Regions from separate parts of the Homo sapiens genome. Here region 1 is linked to region 2. Evidence: promoter capture Hi-C in human tissues and cell types (Jung and others, 2019). All regions are on one chromosome and are shown on one strand. Each heading gives the region's core, a stretch centred on a gene start or on the middle of the fragment in contact. The rest is flanking DNA. Distances are from core to core; before and after follow the strand shown.

Region 1 (5,196 bases), core at 222-2,721, 470 kb after region 2:
TGGTTGCCCCTGTCCCTCCCATCATCTGGGTTTGTGCTCCATGTCACAGGATCAGACCAGCCTCCTTGCCTGTCCTGGGGCAGCAGCCTGCTATCTGCCCCCCATCACTTCATCCTCTCACTTTGCTTTTTACTTATTTTTTATTCTTGTGGGAACATAGTAGGTGTATATATTTATGGGTTACATGAGATATTTTAATACAGGCATGCAATGCATAATAATCAAATCAGGGTAAGTAAGGTATCCATCACCTCAAGCATTTATCCTTTGTGTTACAAACAATCCTATTATACTTTTTTTTTTCTTTTTAGACAGAGTTTTGCTCTTGTTGCCCAGGCTGGAGTGCAATGGCGCAACCTCGGCTCACTGCAACCTCCACCTCCGGGGTTCAAGAGATTCTCTTGCTTCAGCCTCCCGAGTAGCTGGGATTACAGGCATGCACCACCACGCCCAGCTAATTTTGTATTTTTAGTAGAGACAGGGTTTCTTCATGTTGGTCAGGCTGGTCTCGAACTCCCGACCTCAGGTGATCCACCCACCTCGGCCTCCCAAACTGCTGGGATTACAGGCGTGAACCACCGCGTCTGTATTATACTCTTTTGGTTATTTTTAAACGTACAATTATATTATTTTTGACTGTAGTCACCCTGTTGTGCTAGCAAATACTTGGTCTTATTCATTCTTTCTCTTTGCTTTATTACAAAGCAATAGATTTGCCTTCTCAGGTTGTGAGTGTTCAAATAAGTTAGTCTATAAAGCACTGATAAATACTAGGTGCTATTTTAAGCGGTAATCATTTACATGTCATCACGGCATTTATACAACATAGCACACATTACTTTTATCTGCTTTCTTGTGTGTCACCTCCCTGCCTTACTAGAATATAACCTCCACGAGGGCAGGAGAATGATTGGTTTGTTCACTGCTGTATCCGCCAGGGCCTGGCATACAGAACCGTACCCGGCATTCAGAAGGCGCTCAATAAATATATGTTGAATTCAATAAATGAACTGAGGTCTGGAGAGGCAGGAAACGCTTTGGCTTTCATGAATTCTGCAAATATTTACTGAGCACCCACTCAGCACCAGGCAATAGGCTGTCTCATTTTTACAATATTAGCTTGAGACTCTGGCAGGAGGGAGATTTAAATATCAAGTTTTTAGAATAAGATACACAGTGTGAAATGCAGTTTTAAGCGGACACTCCGCTGGGTTTTGAGAGATGCACACTCCCATGTACCTACACTGCCATAAAGAAATAGACCATTGCTTCATCCGGCAGGGCGAGGACTTGGAGCCCAGGTGGCACGAAGGCAACTGACCCGCGGGGTGCTGGTCGCAGGACCCTGCCTCCGGGGGCTGAGGGGGCAACGGCCGGCGGGCGGGCGGGGGCGAGACTACAAGTCCCAGGGTGCTTTGCGCGCCCGCGGGCCGTGCGGAGCGAAGGGGCGGTGCGGAGGGGGTAGGGGGCGCAGCGGCCGCGGCGCGGAGGCGCAGGGCGCGGGCGCCTACGGTTGGCGCGCGGTAGCGATGCCGGGGGCCGGAGCCCGGGCGGAGGAGGGCGGCGGCGGCGGCGAGGGCGCGGCGCAGGGGGCGGCCGCGGAGCCCGGGGCGGGTCCGGCGCGGGAGCCAGCGCGGCTGTGTGGCTATCTGCAGAAGCTGTCGGGCAAGGGCCCCCTGCGTGGCTACCGCAGCCGCTGGTTCGTGTTCGACGCGCGCCGCTGCTACCTTTACTATTTCAAGAGTCCGCAGGACGCGCTGCCCCTCGGCCACTTGGACATCGCGGACGCCTGCTTCAGCTACCAGGGCCCCGACGAGGCGGCGGAGCCGGGCACGGAGCCGCCCGCGCACTTCCAGGTGCACAGCGCGGGAGCCGTCACGGTGCTCAAGGTGGGACCGCTCGCCCCAAAGCCGCCCGCGCGCTTCCGCCGGCGTCCCCTGCCTCCGCCACTGGCTTGCGCCATCCACCCTCCTTCCTCCAAGGCCTCCTCGCCCCTGCCCACGTCGGCCTGCCTTTCCCTGCTTCTCCACATCCCGCCCTCGTTCCTATCTCCTCCCCACTATCTGGGCTTAGGCCAGTCTCGCTGGGGCTACCAAGCCCCGTCTCCTTTCTCAGACACCTTGACCCATTATCTCCCTCTGCGCCTAACCTCGGGCCAGTCTCTGGTGTCTCCCGACCCCCACCATCCCGTGGATGTCCTGTGCAGCCTTCCCAGGCATCCGTGAGCGTAGGCTTCTACCCCTGGGGCCTCCTTTAGAACTTTGCCTATGGCCTTGGTACCTCAGTGAACCGCTCTGGGCTGCAGCGGCCTCCTCTGTAAAATGGGATAACAGTAGTATCTACCTCATGGGGTGTTGGGATTAAATGAATTATACTTTAAACTGCTCAGTAAATGTCAGTGCTTTTATTTATTTGTTTATTTATTCTTTTTGAGACAGGATCTTGTTCTGTTGTCCAGGCTGGAGTGCAGGGGTGCGATCTCGGCTCACTGCAGCCTCCATGCCTGGGCTCAAGAGATCCTCCCACCTCAGCCTCCCAAGTAGCTGGGACCACAGGTGCGGGCCACCACGCCTGGCTAATTAAATTTTTTTTTTTTTTTAAAGAAACGGGGGTCTCACTATGTTGCCCAGGCTAGTCTCGAACTCCTGGGCCGAAACCATCCTCCCCATCCAGCTTCCCAAAGTGCTGGGATGCCAGGCGTGAGCCAGAGTGCATTTAGCACTGTAGACAGAAAGAGTCAGATGGCAGGGCCCTTAGAGACAGTCCACTACATTTTCCTCCAGAGTGGACGGGGATGCTCCAGCTAAGGTCACACAGCCAGTAGGTGGCAGATCCTGTGTTCTTCCTCCTTGCTTTGTCCAGGATGGGTGGGAGGGGGTCTTTTCAGCCAGTTATGCCTTGCTCCTTTGAGGCTCCCTTAATCCTCCAGTGGACAGACAAAATGAGAGATACAGTGTAGAAGCAGGAGAGTAGAGTCAGGAGTCCTGGTGCTGAAAGGCCTCCCCTGTCCTTGGGAGTTCTGGGGGACTAGACTGTCACCTCCTAGGGGCCCACCTGCTTTGAGCATCTGGAGGGATCTGGGCCCAGGCCTGGAGCTGGGTATCCTTTTTCCAGGCTTTGCTCCCTGCCTGGTTTCTGTGAGTCTCCACCCTCACTCTCACTCCTCTTCCGTATTCCAGGTTGGGCTTTCTCCAGAGCAACAGGGTTGGGCTGGGATGTATGAAAGTGCTCTCAAAGCTGGCCACACGGAGAGCAGACTAGGCAAACTCCTGGCCTTGTGAGCTGAGGACTGTTCCTCAGACCCCCAGAGCTGCTAACAGCTGGAGCTGCTCCCTGGAGATGTTCTTAGAGCTTTGCTGACTCAGCTTTTGCCAGTTCAAGCAGGATCTGATTCCCATGTTCTCTTGGGCTCCCCTGTCCTGTCTGTAAGTGGGTGCAGACAGCCTGTTTCCCCAAAGAAAACCAACTCGGGTTGCAGTCCTACACAGGCTTACTTAGAGAGTGCCTGTATAAACTTGGTAATGACCCTAGTGGGAGACCTTTGCCAAAGGCAGAGGCTCTTCCTCAGTGTACATACGGGCTGTCCCTGTGTCGGACGAATTTCCTGTGGGATGTTTGTTAAAGAAAATAGAGCATCGTGTTTCACATTTTTCCCAGATGACTGTAGAACTCTATCAGTTTTTTTCATTAAAATAATCTGAATCTCCTGTAATCCCAGCACTTTGGGAGGCCGAGACGGGTGGATCACGAGGTCAGGAGCTCGAGACCATCCTGGCTAACACGGTGACACCCCATGTCTATTAAATATACAAAAAATTAGCCAGGCATGGTGGCGGGTGCCTGTAGTCCCAGTTATTCGGGAGGCTGAGGCAGGAGAATGGCGTGAACCCGGGAGGAAGAGCTTGCAGTGAGCAGAGATCGCGCCACTGCACTCAGCCTGGGTGACAGAGTGAGACTCCATCTCAAAAAAAATTAAAAAAAAAATAATAAATAAGAATCTACATAAGCAGGGTTACAAGGCGCATTGTCAGAAGTGTGGCTTTAAACTTCGATGGACTTGAACTTGAAGCAGGAGTCTGCTGCTCACACATATTGGACAAATTACACCAGTTCCCTGCTCCAGTTTCCTCTTTGGTCTAGTGGGAATCATACCTTCCTCATTAGGTGGCTGTGAGGATTCTGGAGAATGTTATGGAAAATGGCTGGCGCATTTTCCATAGTGGTATGGAAAATAGTAGGCACTACATGGCATATGAAACATCAAGCAGTGTCTTTGGCCAAATATGTAGTGTATTCATATAGTGGAATATTATGCAGTAGTAAACAAAGGTACTAGAGCTATAGGTGTCAACGTGGATTACTCTCACAAACAATAAAATTGAACAAGAAGTAAGTTACACACTGATTGTGTTCAGAATGATACCACTTATAGAAAGGTTAGGAAGATCATGTGAAACAGTACTACAGATCATAAGGATGTATGCTCTTTCGCGAGGGGAAGAGCTTTATGGGGCTGATGAGCTCTGGTTTCCAGGTAGTGGTTGCCTGTGATGGGAAGAGGGAGGATGTGATTGGGAATGGGTGCCTCAGGGCTTCTCCTGTTTTGCAGTGTTTTATTTCTTGGACTGGGTCATAGGTATATCAGTGTTTGTCCTATTATGCTATCCATCTTTTTGTAGGTTCAGAATATTTCTTTTTTTAAAGAAAGGAAATACATTTTCCTTTGGGTTACTGACAATGGAGGAATATTTTGACATGTAAAATTAAATTGGTCACAGAATAAGATAGTACCGAGTGTTGGCTGTATACAACAATGGGAATGGAAATCAGGCAAGGCTTTCTGGAAGAAGGGAGGAGAAGGCCGGGCGTGGTGGCTCATGCCTGTAATCCCAGCACTTTGGGAGGCCGAGGCGAGTGGATCACTTGAGGTCAGGAGTTCGAGACCAGCCTGGCCAATATGGTGAAACCCCATCTCTACTAAAAATACAAAAATTGGCTGGGCATGGTGGCGCACGCTGTAGTCCCAGCTGCTCGCGAGGCTGAGGCAGGAGAATTGCATGAACCCGGGAGGCGGAGGTTGCAGTGAGCCGAGATCACACCACTGCACTCCAGCCTGAGCGACAGAGTGAGACTCCACCTTAAAAACAAACAAACAAACAAACAAACAAGCAAAAAACACCCCGACTCTAAAACCCT
Region 2 (4,545 bases), core at 1,150-3,649:
AGCAGAGACCTGGAGATGAGGGAGTGGGCAATAGATACCCAGGAAGAGCATTCCCAAGGCAGAGGGATTGGCAAGTGATGTGAGGGGAGCTTGGCACATTCAGGGAATGATGAGAAGGCTCATTTGGATGAATGAGTGAGGAAGGAAGCACATGGAAGGTAGCACAAGGCCAGAATACAGGATACCTCATGAACCAGTACAAAGAATTTGACTCTTACTGAGCAAGATGGGAAGCCATTGGAGGGTTTTGAGCCAAAACTGTGCAGTAGTACCGTTTACATTTTGAAAGGATCACTGTGGCTGCTGCTGGAGAATTGACTGTGGGGAATGAAGTGGAGGCAAGGAACCAGTTAGGAGGCTGTTGCAATAGTCCAAGTCAGAGATAATGGTGAATTGGACCAGCGTTCCTGCAGTGGAAAGTGGCTGGATTATGGGTAAATTCTGCAGACAGAGTTAATAAGATTTATTGACTACCTCAACCTCTGGGTGTAGCAAGACTGGAGGGTGAAGACGTGCCATTCATCTTCACTACTTGCTGATTCTGTACTTGTGAATTTGCAAAATTTGCATTCTCATAAAATGTACATGTAACCCCCAAACCAATACTTGTGGTACTTTTAGTCATTTGTTGACATGCAGAGTGGTGAAAATTTTGAGTACCCAGGTGCACATGTTCCCATCTGAGGTTGAGCAAGGCGACACTCTGAATTCTTGTTTCAGCTCTCACACCGTGTAAGTGTTCCTGCAGTCTACCTTGTGCCGTTTATTTTTGCATTTTTCTTAGTGATTTTACTATTTCAAATGGCACCCAGGTATAGTGCTGAAGTGCTGTTTAATGTTCCTAAGCACAAGAGGGCTGTGATGTCAGCACTTTGGGAGGCTGAGGCAGGAGGATCGCTTGAGTCCAGGAGCTTGAGACCGGCATGGGAAACATGGTGAGACCTTCCCTGCTCACCGTCTCTATGAAAAAAACACTGTTTAGTGTTGTTCCTAAGCATAAGAGGGCTGTGATGTCAACACTTTGGGAGGTCAAGGCAGGAAGACCGTTTGAGCCTGCAGTGAAATATGATCACGCCACTGCACTCCAGCCTGGGTGACAGAGCAAGACCCAGTCTCAAAAAACAAAACAAAACAAAAACATTCACGTAAAGAGCTGTTGGCTGAGTTCTATGTTAATGAATCCACAATACACATTTAAAAAGGTGTCTTTAAGTAGAAATACACAAAAAACAGGTTATGTACTGATCAGTTGATAAAAATGTGACCAGTGGCTTGTAGGACCCTAACCCAGTACTTTCTCTAGGTGCAAGAGTTCAGTATTTTGTTAGTTTTTGTGGTGACTTTAGAACATAACTACCAAAAATAACGAGAACCTGCTGTACAGAGTAAGAGAATAATTTAGAAGTTCAAAAAAGTGCTGCAAATAGGGCTTGTAAATACTTTAGCCTATACAGAAAACTGCAGGGAGCTGCATTAAGAAAATCTACAATGAGAAATTAGACTGGGAGCACATATTTGGTTGACAACAGCTGAGAGAAGGGTAAATGATGGCTCAATGCACTCACCCTAGCTGATGGAAATCACCTGAAGAGTTTAAGCAATGTTAATATCTGGGTTCCACCACAGAGCTTGAGTTAATCGATACAGCATGCTTACAAGCTGCAAAAGCTTCCTAGGTGATTCTAATATGCAACAAAAACTTCTTAAAGTTTTACTTAGCATTCCTAAGAATCACATGCAGAGCTTGTTAGAACAGATTACTGGGTTTCACCCTCAGAGATTTTAATTCAGTAGATCTGGGATGGGACATCAGAATCTGCATAGGTGATGCTAAAGCACCATGGCTACGCATTAAGTACCACTGCCCTGTATCACTTCTGTCATGAAGCCACAGATAGCCAAGGGAACTCAGGTTGAACAAACCCCAGCAACAGAGCTCCCTTCAGCCAACACGTAACTGTTCTCATCTCTTGGTTCCACTTTTCCTCTGTGGCCTTAACTTCTACACCTCATCTTCCGCGCAGCTTGAGCTGCTGCCTGTGGGCAGCCTCAGTCCTAGCTGCGAGATCCACACCCACACATCAATTCTGGCTTTGTTCAGCTCACGTGTTCATTCTCAAACCAATTCCTGCAGACAGAGACGAATAATCTGGCCAGCCTGAGGAACGTGCCCATCTTTGTGAAAGGACTGTAAGCCACAATGTGCAAAAAGTAATCGCCCTGTCAGTTTTTGTATATTTAACAATTACTGCTACAGAGAATTTATTCCTTCATTTCCATTTTCCAAATTTTATTCCAAAAAAAGGGGATGTGTGTGGAAGATTAAGACGTCCATGAAGGGTAACCATCATCGTTACAATAAAGTATTCAATTGGACAGAAATGACAAGGACCCAATTCAGTATGTAATGTCCTATTTTCCCACTGCACCAGTTAAAAAAAGTAAAGCCTTCCTAGTGTGGAAGAGTAGGACTGCTTTTACACTGAAATGGTGCCCCAAATGAGTAATAAAATCTCTGATTCTATTTATCCTTTTCTTTCTGTTCTTTTTCTTTCTTCTCACGCTCAGCTTTGGCTTCTTCTTCCTCATGTTTTTTGATCAACTGCTCCACTTCTTTTTGTTTGAGAACTCTGATTACTGTCTTTCCATTCTCTCTTGTTAGTGTTGCAATTTCCACTAAAAACAAACACATACATTTATTTGTATTGCAGGCAGGCAGGCATACTTAGCAGAGAAGCTTAATAGGCACTCATGGTTTATGCTCGCCACATCATTGAAACGTTAGTTCAGCACTCTCCTATGTTTTATACTTAACATTATTCCCTTTTATGAGAACAATATACTTTTGATCTTGTAATGTTTTAATTATAATTTTTACTTAAATATCGTCTCCTCAGCCATTTTGTCACTCCCTTAGAAAAAGTATAATCAACCAATTGCTATTGCCGGCCTGCTATTAGCTGTGCTGATTAGACGGAACTGTTGGAACCTCTGAGGGCTCAGCCAGAATCTTCAACTGGTAATAACAGCTTATTTTTTATGGACTTTTCAAGTCTCTTAAAAAAATAAATAAATAAAAGGCATGAAATGGCCAAGAAAAGCAGACTGATACCTAAAGGGGAAGGAATTTTTTTGTACCAGGGAAACTGAGTAGTGCTTCCTTGAAACTGGGTGGAAGTAGACAAAAGAGGGCAATCTGCATGTAAATGACATTTTCTTTTTCTTTTTTTTTTTGAGATGGAGTTTTGCTCTTGTTGCCCAGGCTGGAGTGCAATGGCGCAAACTCGGCTCACTGCAACCTCCACCTCCTGGGTTCAGGTGATTCTCCTGTTTCAGCCTCCTGAGTAGCAGGATTACAGGTGCGCACCACCACGCCCGGCTAATTTTTTGTATTTTTAGTAGAGGCAGGGGTTTCACCATGTTGGCCAACCTGGTCTTGAACTCCTGACCTCAGGTGATCCACCCACCTCGGCCTCCCAAAGTGCTGGGGATTACAGGCGTGAGCCAATATGCCCGGCCGTAAATGGCATTTTCTAAGGAACACCAGGAGCTAAACTGTCCTAACATAAAGCAACATGTTAATTTACCACAATTTCTGAAAAACATTTAGAAATATTCTTTTTTTTTTTGAGACAGAGTCTCTCTCTGTCACCCACGCTGGAGTGCAGTGGCATGATCTCAACTCACTGCAGCCTCCGCTTCCCAGGTTCAAGTGATTCTCCTGCCTCAGCCTCCCAAGTAGCTGGGATTTATAGGCATGCACCACCATGCCTAGCTAATTTTTGTATTTTAAGTAGAGATGGGGCTTCACCATGTTGGCCAGGCTGATCTGGAACTCCTGGCCTCAGGTGATCCACCCACCTCAGCCTCCCAAAGTGCTGGGATTACAGGCATGAGCCACCAAGCTCGACTGAAATATTCTTTTATATAGTCATATAGCTTAAGTTGAACAAGGTATTTGGAATTGCTAACATGAGCTTAAAATAAGAGATTAGTAGATTAAGAAGAACAGGAGAGGGTATCACAACCCACGCAAATGTTGTATCTCTGGTAAAGTATACCAAACCTATGTATAAATATATAACTACATACGTATGCTTTATCATATATACACACAAGCAAAGATATCATTGATGAGAAGACTTGATAACTGTTAACTAAAAGTAGCACAGTGCAGGATGTCTATCTGTGAGTAATGAGATTGTTCAGTATCAAGCCTTTAAGTTTGGAATACAGTGTGAGATTGTGACTCCACAATTTACCAATGTTGATCTTGGTCAACTCACTTAACCTCATTAAGCCCTAGTGTCCTCAGTTAGAAGACAGGGATAACATCACCTAATTCGTAAGGTTGCTGTTTCAATGAACTAGGATGACATGTTAAAATCTTAACAGTTGCTGGCTGGGCGCAATGGCTCACGCCTGTAATCCCAGCACTTTGAGAGGCTGAAGCGGGAGGATCACCTGAGGTCAGGAGGTCATGACTAGCCTGGCCAACATGGTGAAACCCCGTCTCTACTAAAAATACAAAAATTAGCTGGGCAT

Evidence for each region. Contacts are between HindIII fragments. The study calls those that stand out against the background at their distance.
Region 1: a contact is called between the fragment with the promoter of TBC1D2B here and a fragment that was not itself captured in region 2, in 1 of the 25 tissues and cell types used here (adrenal gland).

Annotation. Positions count from the first base shown.
Region 1 is chr15:78,073,986-78,079,181 of GRCh38, reverse strand. TBC1D2B (TBC1 domain family member 2B) reads left to right here and starts at 1,471. Exons shown (of 13, transcript NM_144572.2): 1 at 1,471-1,889. The coding sequence starts at 1,530. RefSeq lists silencers at 1,186-1,235, 1,386-1,595, 1,796-1,995. The HindIII fragment of the contact is 18,770 bases long and covers 1-5,196 here.
Region 2 is chr15:78,546,921-78,551,465 of GRCh38, reverse strand. It overlaps PSMA4 (proteasome 20S subunit alpha 4), which reads right to left. Exons shown (of 9, transcript NM_002789.6): 9 at 1-2,676. The coding sequence ends at 2,522. Among named protein-coding and RNA genes, the nearest start is that of PSMA4, 8.7 kb to the right of the region's middle. The HindIII fragment of the contact is 4,467 bases long and covers 166-4,545 here.